Regions from separate parts of the Homo sapiens genome. Here all the other regions are linked to region 1. Evidence: promoter capture Hi-C in human tissues and cell types (Jung and others, 2019). All regions are on one chromosome and are shown on one strand. Each heading gives the region's core, a stretch centred on a gene start or on the middle of the fragment in contact. The rest is flanking DNA. Distances are from core to core; before and after follow the strand shown.

What was found. The method cuts DNA at HindIII sites, captures the fragments that hold promoters and counts their contacts. A contact is called where the count stands out against the background at its distance.
Region 2: a fragment that was not itself captured here is called in contact with the fragment with the promoter of RORA in region 1 in 1 of the 25 tissues and cell types used here (stomach).
Region 3: a fragment that was not itself captured here is called in contact with the fragment with the promoter of RORA in region 1 in 1 of the 25 tissues and cell types used here (liver).

The regions. Positions count from the first base shown.
Region 1 is chr15:61,227,692-61,230,693 of GRCh38, forward strand. RORA (RAR related orphan receptor A) reads right to left here and starts at 1,611. Exons shown (of 11, transcript NM_134261.3): 1 at 1,362-1,611. The coding sequence starts at 1,527. The HindIII fragment of the contact is 14,135 bases long and covers 1-3,002 here.
Region 2 is chr15:61,189,406-61,192,356 of GRCh38, forward strand. The region is part of intron 1 of RORA (RAR related orphan receptor A); the gene reads right to left. It overlaps LOC105370841 (a long non-coding RNA gene), which reads right to left. Exons shown (of 2, transcript XR_007064661.1): 2 at 1-2,951. Among named protein-coding and RNA genes, the nearest start is that of RORA, 38 kb to the right of the region's middle. The HindIII fragment of the contact is 3,527 bases long and covers 1-2,951 here.
Region 3 is chr15:61,269,528-61,272,816 of GRCh38, forward strand. No RefSeq gene overlaps it. Among named protein-coding and RNA genes, the nearest start is that of RORA, 42 kb to the left of the region's middle. The HindIII fragment of the contact is 7,673 bases long and covers 1-3,289 here.

The sequences.
Region 1 (3,002 bases), core at 361-2,860:
CCTCCCCAACCGCCGCCAGAAGCCGAGTGCAAGAGGAGGGGGCGCGCTGGGCCGGTACCCAAGCCGGGGCTGGAGAAATCCTCTCCGTCCCCAGCTCCAGGCGGCTCGCGCGAGCACGCTTCCTCCGGAGTGACAGGCGCGATTTATACATTATTTACAACAGTAATTAAAGCTGTAGCTTCCTCCTGTTCTTTGCAAACTCCAGGCGCATTCAAATAAATAATCCCCCACTCTCGAGAAAAACACACATCAGGTTCCAATACCTTCAAGAAAGAGTGAGCTTTCCTCAACAGCTCACTTTAGGAAAGGAGGGAGCAACTGAGTCCCCCCCATCCCCCCCAACACACGCAGACACAGACCAAACACCAAAATGAAGAGTAAAAATCGCCAGGGGAGGAGAAAACATTGCTTGCACTATCCAACCAGCATACAACTTGCACTGACCATCCCCAGGTTCCTGCAGAAATGCTTGGAACCTCCGAGAGGGAAGGATTCCCAGAGCAGAAATAAGTTTCGGTGCTTGCTTTTGTAGACGCTCCCTCCGGATGCGCGTGGAGCGCCCCACAGGACCGCCGCCCTCTGCGCGTTGGCGCGCACACGCCCCCCGCCAGCCTGGGCGCCGGGCTCCGAACCCCCGGTCTGCAAACTTGCGCATCTCCCCTCGCCGCGCCCGCCAGACAACTTGGCGAACAGCTCGCCCGCCCGCACCCCGCTTCCTTCGGCCCTTCCTTCAAATCCCAAACGCACCGCCGTGCTCCAAAGAAGGTGTCCACGTCGCCCCCAGACCCCGGAGCGCCCCCTCTCCACCCCCGGGACTTCCCAGGTCGCTCACTCCTCCCGCCCCCCGCCCAGATCTGAGAGGGACCGAAAACACACCCCCGACTCGGGCAGCCAGGGCCGAAACTGTCAAGAGGAGAAAAGGTAAAGCGGAAGGAGGGTGGCCATAAACAGATTTTTTTGCCCCTTCTTAAAAGGACACTGCCGCTTTAAAAGTTTCTTTCCCGGGCCCCCACTCCCCGCATCTCCGTATTTTGGGGGAGCGTATTTAATTGAGGCAACGCAGCTTTCCTCCAGTGTTTGCAGAAAAATCAAAGCCAGGGGGGTGAGCCCGCCGGCTGTCAACCTTCCCGCCGCCTCCCCCGCCCCACTCTGCTCCCGCAAGCCGAGAACGGGCTGCAAAAGTTTGCAACATTTCTGGGGGGCGGAGGGGGGAGGGGAGGGGGGTCCTCCGGGCTCGGGGCGCCGCCGCAGGCTCGCGCGCGGCCGCCGGACCCCGCGCCCCGGGCGCCCGCTCCCGGCCGCCCCCCGCTCCGCGCCCGGGCTCCCGCCGCCCCCTCCCCAGCCCCTCTCCAGCCTCCTACCTCTGCTGGTGCTGGAATAGCTCTGTCTGCGCACCGGGGCAGGCGGCTCGCTCTTGCGGGCGGATTCCTGGTTCAGCGGGGTCTCCCTGGAGCCGGCGGCCGCGTCCGCGCCGCTGCTGCCTGGCTCGCTGGCGGCGGGGTCGGGGGCTGCCGGAGCTGACTCCATGTTTTTTCCCAATGTAGAGATCGCTGGAGATGGCGAGCTCCGAGACTCCCTCTATCTTCTGTTTTCAGAGCAACTCTATGGTACCAAAAAAAAAAAAAAAAAAAAAAAAAAAAAAAAAAAAAAAAAAAGAAGGAGAAGGCGACCGGCGAAAGCAGGAGGGAAAAAGCAGGCGGCGGCGGGCGGGCAAGCAAAAGCGCGAGGGAGCGCGCGGAGTGTCTGGGTGGACGTGTGTGTGCGCCCGAAAGGGGACAAGAGGCGGGTCTGGCCACAGGCAGCGCTAGCGAGAGCTTCTCCAGCCGGCCCCCACACCCACATTCCCCACCCTCCAGACCCCAGACCGAGAGCCACAGACTGGCTGCCAATTTTGGGAGGTGGGGAAAAGAGGGGAGGAGGAGAACAGAGCCTCCCGCGCCCCAATCCTCCCCTCTCCCCAGCCCAGGGACAGAAATTAAAATCGGTGAGATGATTCCGTGCCTACTTCTGAGACTCTCTCGGGAACAGAACTCGTCCCCATCCGCTGCCAGCTTGGGTAGAGACAAATCCGATTGTCCACGTCCACGTTGGGAAATCGCAGGTAGCCCCCTGCCAGCCCTGCCGAGGGCTGAGGAGAAACTAAAAAGGAATTAGAACGGGGCTGACATCCCAAGGAAGGCGGAGGATGGGAGGACGTGGCACTTTTTACTTTGGGATGGGACGGCCAGTGGGTTTCCAATCTTGGTTAAAGACATCTGTGTCTAAAACAGATTTTGTGAATCTAGAAGCGCCATGGACAGTTTCTGGCATGGTTGAAAGAGGTCGCTTTCAGCTCCTTTGCTGTTTGTCCGCGAAGGATCCAGAAACCATTTGGCAGGGCATTTTCTACTGAAGAAAACTTTGGCCTGTTTGGTCGACAACTATCTAAGCTGGATAAAACATGCCACGCTGCATCTAGCTCAAGCGTGGCTGCTAATTGTCAATTCCCACTGGTACTTTTCCTATTAAATGTACAGTCTCATCCATAAAAGGTAGATATACTGGAGAGGCATTACTAATGCCCGGATAACATTCAGATAATTAACAGCTCCTAATAATTCGTATTATTATAGGCATCATTCTACACCCTCCTCCCATTGAAATACATTCATCCCCTAGTAGGTACCTAAAACTCCAGGAAAGCAGATAATTGCATCATCGTTACCTTGACTGCAAACTCCAAGATGAAGGAACAATACAAATTGAAAGAATGGAAAATACTCCAATGGTAGTAGCCTGATTTGTCTGCCTTCATACTCAATCTACCACTTTCTTTTGCCTGCGAAGACACTGTGGAAATACGCCCCACCTTCCTTTCAAAAGGATCCAAAATTTTGACAATAAATAATATTATTAGAGGCCAGAAGGTGGCATAAATATATGTGCTTCAGAACGTGGGGTAGGCGGAGGGAATTGGGGGACATTTTTCTTTTGCTAACTTCCTGGTTTGGAAAAATGCTTTA
Region 2 (2,951 bases), core at 149-2,648, 38 kb before region 1:
TTCTCCAGCCTGTCTATCTGGTTTCCCACCTCCTAGCTGCTCTGCAGTAGATGATTCAAAGGATGGCTGGAGAAGGAGCCCTGTGGGGCCAGCACAATGTCAATATCCCAGCAAGAAGGAGGGCTGCAGCCTCCACAGGGCCCCAGGTGCTGAAGACAGAACAGATATCTGGCCAGGTGTGGTGGCTCACACCTGTAATCCCAAAATTTTGGGAGGCCGAGGTAGGCAGATCACGAGGTCAGGAGATCAAGACCATCCTGGCTAACACGGTGAAACCCCATCTCTACTAAAAATACAAAAAATTAGCCAGGAATGGTGGCGGGCACCTGTTGTCCCAGCTGCTCAGGAGGCTGAGGCAGGAGAATGGCATGAACCCAGGAGGCGGAGCTTGCAGTGAGCCGAGATTGCACCACCGCACTCCAGCCTGGGTGACAGAGCGAGACTCTGTCTCAAAAAAAAAAAAAAAAAAAAAAAAAACCACAGATATCCATCATTATTCCAGCATTATTTATCATGGAAAAAAAACAATACCAAACTGCAAACAACCTACATGTTTGTCAATAGGGATGAATAAATTAATACATGTCTACACCAGGTGAAATTTTGCAATTTTTAATAAAAAGAATAAATGAGATTTATATCTATTGGCCTGAAGTGAAGCTCATTATATCTTTTAAAGTTTATCTGTTCCTCAAACTCCAAAAGCCTGGTGAGGCTAATTCTCATGCTTATCAATAAAAATTACTTTTCTCCGTCAATTAGTATTTGGTCCAGAAAAAAAAAAAATCAGTGTGTCTTGCTGTAAGAACATCAGTGTGCTCAGAGCTAAAATTAGGAAACACACACAAAAATAAAACCTGACTTTACAAGGGGCATTTTCCTATTAACAAAAGGGACACCAATAAGTTCTATAAAATTGATTGTTTTACACGGTGCATGGAAAGCATGATGTTGCATAGAAACTAAAGTGATATATGTCCTGCATAAAGTGAGGCCTACCTTTAAATATCAGAAGATGCTTTCCTAAAAAATAAAATCATGAGATAGATTACATAAAGAGTTCAAAGGACGCTGGGCATGGTGGGTGGCTCAGGCCAATAACTCCAGCACTTTGGGAGGGCAAGGTGGGCAAATCGCTTGAGCCCAGGAGTTTGAGACCAGCCTGGGCAACATTGCGAAACCCCATCTCTACAAAAAATACAATGGGAGTCTAAGGGAGGCTATGGGAGGCTAAGGGAGGCTCAGGTAAGGAGGATCTCTTGAGCCTGGGAGGCAGAAGCTGCAGTGAGCCAAAATGGCACCACTGCACTCCAGCCTGAGTAACAGAGTAAGACTCTGTCTCAAAAAAAGAAAAGAAAAGAAAAAAAGAATTCAAAGGAGAACTGACATATCACCCAGTGGGTATATTACAGAATGCTTGCATGTATGTGTGTGTGTGTATGGTTTTATATATATTTATATAAAGTATAAATGCTTTTGCTTATATATATGAATCTCATTTTCCCACTGGCTTTCCTTAAAAACTAAACAAAACACAAACACCTTACTGATCGTTAGTAGCTCGTAAGCTGATTTTTAGCCTTTCAGCTGAGAGGAAATGGTCCAAAAAAAAAAATACTAAATGCATCAGGGAGATTTTTCATACATTCACATTTCCATGTGGGAAGCAGCATTATATAGTGGAAACAACATAGTCTTTAAAACAGAAGAGATTTGTATTGAAAGGCTGGCTCCACCGTTACGGATTTGGGCAAAGCTCTGAACCTCTGTTTCCTCATCTAAAGATAGGAATAGCTGCACTTTCCTTGCACCATCATCATGCGGAATGGAAACACTACACATGAAGCCTCTGGTACAACTCTTGGCAGAGTACACACTCAGGAATTGTCATCTGTATTATTATTTCACAAGCTGACATTTTTTAAAGGAAAGCACACCTAGGCTGCCATCTCCTTGTAGCAAAAAAAAAAAAAAAAGAAAGAAATCAGTTCTGATCAAGGGCACATCTAATAGTTGAGAGTGAAATGTGAAATGGGAAGATGACACCACCACACAACCAGCCCCTTCCTCATTCATTTAGATGTGTCCCAGGACACCACAAGGCTGGCTATTGTACTTCTTAGGCTGTGTCAAAACCATTTTAGTCAAGCCCAGTGCTTTGCAGATAAACACATTGCCAACCTTTAAAATATTCATCTTCCCCTCTATCGTTCCTTCCAATGGAATTGAGACACTGACTGCTTATTGGTTCTCCCTTCCCAAACAATAAGAACAGTAAAGTGGTACTCATGCAGACGCAGCACACATAGTAATCCAAGGACAACTCTGTCCATCAAGGAAGCTTCAGCAAGACCCAAGGTACCAATGGGCTCATTTATGATTCTGTGTCCTCACATTCTGTAGTCTCGCATCTGTTCTGAAAATCTGATGGTTTATAAAATAACAGGAATATTTAAAAATTAGGTCTGTAGAGTGGGATAGGTCTGAATGTCAAATACTATTGCCATTCAAGCTTCGCTTCTCTAAGAAAAGCCTGCCTAGAATGAAGATACAACTGCTGTCCAGGCTTAATCTAAACCTTGCTTAATGGTGCACAAGGTACTTGGGTTGACAGAGCTACGTGTAGATTTTAGGCGGTAGCTCTCCATAGAGCATGTTGCATGCAAACAGAGGTCGTGTCAGCACATGTCACCCTTAACCAACACGGTGCTATTTAAGTAAGTGCCAACCTGCAGTTTCAGCAATTGTGATTTATTGAGAAGGGTGGTGTGAATAATGCGGAGGACTTGACCATTGGCCTTTAATTCCTCTCATTTAGACAGGCTGCTCTTCGCTATAAAATAGTCATTCTGTAAATTAATGTGTTTTATTTTAAAAGTGACATGTTGTACTGGCTTATGCCTAAAGGCAAATTACTCTGGATTGCCAGTTTCCTAACCAGGCTACAAGGG
Region 3 (3,289 bases), core at 677-3,176, 42 kb after region 1:
TTGGGGCCTGACTGCTTAAAACAAGAAAGTCAAAAGTGATTGTTTTTGAGGACATGTGACTGTTTTCACCCAAAGTCATTAGCTTTCTAGGATCAGAAAGTTGCTCCTGCCTTGGGAACAGGCTTCTATACCTCTAGCCTGGGCTCAGCCAGAGGCCCAGCACCTTCACATGAAAATTCATGATATGAAACGATGCTCAGTATAAACTGTCATAAAGGAAAAGAAAAATACAAAGCAAATGGTAACAGAGATCCACTTTGGGAGGTGGGATGATAAAGATACCCACAGCAAGGGGCTGTTGAAAGTTGATTTCTTAAGACTCAAAGACCTCTACTCTGTTAATAGCTGCTAATGTAGACCTCAGGGACAGTGGGGCAAAATGGGCATTATGCAACTTCTCCAAATACTTTGTGTGTATGTGTGAGTACTAAATAAGCTAACACATATAAAGCGCTTAGCATGGGGGCAGGTAGCTAAAAGGTACCAGTTAATGGTGGCTATGATTATTGTAACTTGTAAATGTGGTCTGCACTCTCCTTTCTTCCCTCATCACTTTGACCATTTCATTTCTGCTTCCTGTGTTGCTGCGCAGACTTTCAAGTTTTCCCCTATTATTTTCCTATATCAAATACCTTACCTTCATCTTTGTATGTAGTTTTTGTTCCAGAGGTAGCATTATACTTGCAGGCCAGTGGGCTCTAACTGGTTAACCTGGAGCAGAAAGTATACAGTGTCAATATTTAGAGTGGCACTATTTGACTGACAGTGGTTTTCCCTTCTCAGAGTAATTACTCTTTGTTTGGATTCTCGGTTTTCATAAAAGAAACTTGGCTTGCTAGCTATTACATATACCAAATGAAGCCTAAGCTTGTGTAAATGTTGAATAATGAATTAAAATAAAATTGCTGCTAGTGACAGGCCTTCCATGACTCAGTGTGGTTTTGGAGGCAAAAAGTCCCCTATGTCAGCTTCCATGAAGGAGAACATTAGAGTGGCCACATAGTACAACCTCATCGCAGTTCCATTTGGCTGAATGATACAGACAGCTTTAGAGATAAGCAGGGGCTTTTGAGTCCTCCCTTCCTGAAAACACAAGCGGTCCAAATGTTGACTTGGGTACCAGTAACTTTCATGAAGACATAGGCCTTGGAGTTATACTCCACCCTGTGAAGCTTAACTGCTGAATGTTGAAAGCACATTTGAAAATGATTACATCTTTCAGGACACAATCAAAGACTCTTTAGTATTTAGCAAAGAAGCAATCAAACATACATTTGTGGAGGGATTGGTGAAAGCCACTTTGGCCAATATCCATCAGGAGACATTTTAAGACCCAATATCCTTAAATTTAGTTCTATTCTGTAAGACCCACCGAATCTCCATTGCAGATCACTGAGGAAGAAAAAGTAAGTGCCACATGATGTTAATCTAAGTGAATGTGATTTTAGTCCTCAGGCAAGTAAAGAGAAAGGTAGGAGATGAACCTTTAGAAGAAAAGTCATATGGAGAGGTGGGGCAATTTATTTTGGGCATGGTAGAGTATGTACTTATTCTAGTTGAAATTAAGAGAGAGTTTGATGCTAATATGTAGACAAATATTCCTTGATTGGATTAATTAGTTTTTTTTAAAGAACCAAGATCTTTGCTGAAAAGATTAACATGTTTCTTTTTGACCCCAGACCTACCCCTGTTTCCAAAGCCTCAAGGTCCTTCAACCTCTGCCAAAGCCGTTTTCTACCATCAACCAAAGCAGCCGAATCAGGATCTGAGCTAATTCAGCTCAGTTCAACTTGGCAAATATTTACTGTGCATATTTTACTCTGCTAGAAACAGGGGAGACACAGGTGAAGATGTAGTCCTTACTCCCAAGTAGCTCACAGTCCAATAGGAAAAAGACCTGTCATCAACAATGAGCTTATCTCTGTGAAGTTACTGAAAAGTTAGAAGCAGCCCCAGGTTACCACAGTGACATAAACAAGGGTCTGTGAGGCAGTGCCTGCCCTGGAATTTCTGGTTAAAAGAGGTTCAGGGACAGCAATCTAATTGTATGTGCTGGGAATGGGGCAGGATGGGTGGGTAGCAGGTAGGGTTGCCAGACTTAGCAAATAAAACTAGAGAACACCAAGGTAAATTTGCAGTTCAGATAAACAACAGATAGATTTTTAGCATAAGTATATCCCATGCAATAGTCTAAGTTGTTTTTTTTTTTTTTTTCTGAAACTCAAATTTAACTGGGAATCTTGTATTTTATATGGTGGGCCTAGGAGTTGCCTTGCAGTTTTAATTGCTTAGCATATTTACTGAAGACTGAGACAGTGTCGAGGTTAGAAAAGGCTTCCTGGAGGGAAGAACCCAGGGGCTGGGTTTTGAAGACTGAAAATGAGAACCTAGGCCCTTTGAATCAAAGTGTGATCTACAGACAAGCAACACCAGCATCACCTGAGAGCTTGCTGGAAACGCAGACTCTCAGGCACCACCCCAGACCTACAGACCCAGAATCCGCATTTTAACAAGATGTCCAGATGATTCATATGCACATTAGTGTTTGAGATGCCCTGGTCTAGGTGAAAAAGAACAAGGAGCAAATAAAAGAAATGGCATGCCCATATGTACACATACCCAAAACAGCACAGTCGTCTCGTGAAAAATCAATCACTTATTTTATCCTCTATCACACACAGCACAGCCAGCAATATCTTGCACTTTGTTATTATTATTTCTTGCATAGATATTCTTCTTCTTTCCATTATAGGAAGCAAGAAGGCCAATATTACTCTTATTTAGCAAGAGTTATATCCTGGTGAATGGTCAGAAATTTAAAGACATAAATAAAACTTAGTTACAACCTACTAGGTTATTTTCATTCATGTTCAATTAAGGGTTTAGTGTACAGTGGGCTACACTTTCCATGTATGTAATTCTGATATGCATTAGTGATTCCTCCACATTTTTATGGTTCCTCATGTGCATAATTCTACCATGCATTAATGCTTCCTCTACATTCTACAAATGGGGAAATGAATGCCTTGAGGGTTGAGTGACTTGTAAGTTTCAAACGCAGAATTCTAACCCGCAAATGTCTGACCCAAACTCTACATTTTTTGCCCATTGCTTTTAAGAGGTGACCGTGAACAAAGTGAGAAATGTTTAACATTCTAAAAATCTTTTAGAAAATTCAGGTTAAACAAACATTGCTACAGACTTCTAGACATTTTAGGCAGCATTTTTTTGTTTTGTTTTGGTTTTATGGGGGGGGGGGGCAGCATTAACTTGCTAATTGCCTCAATTG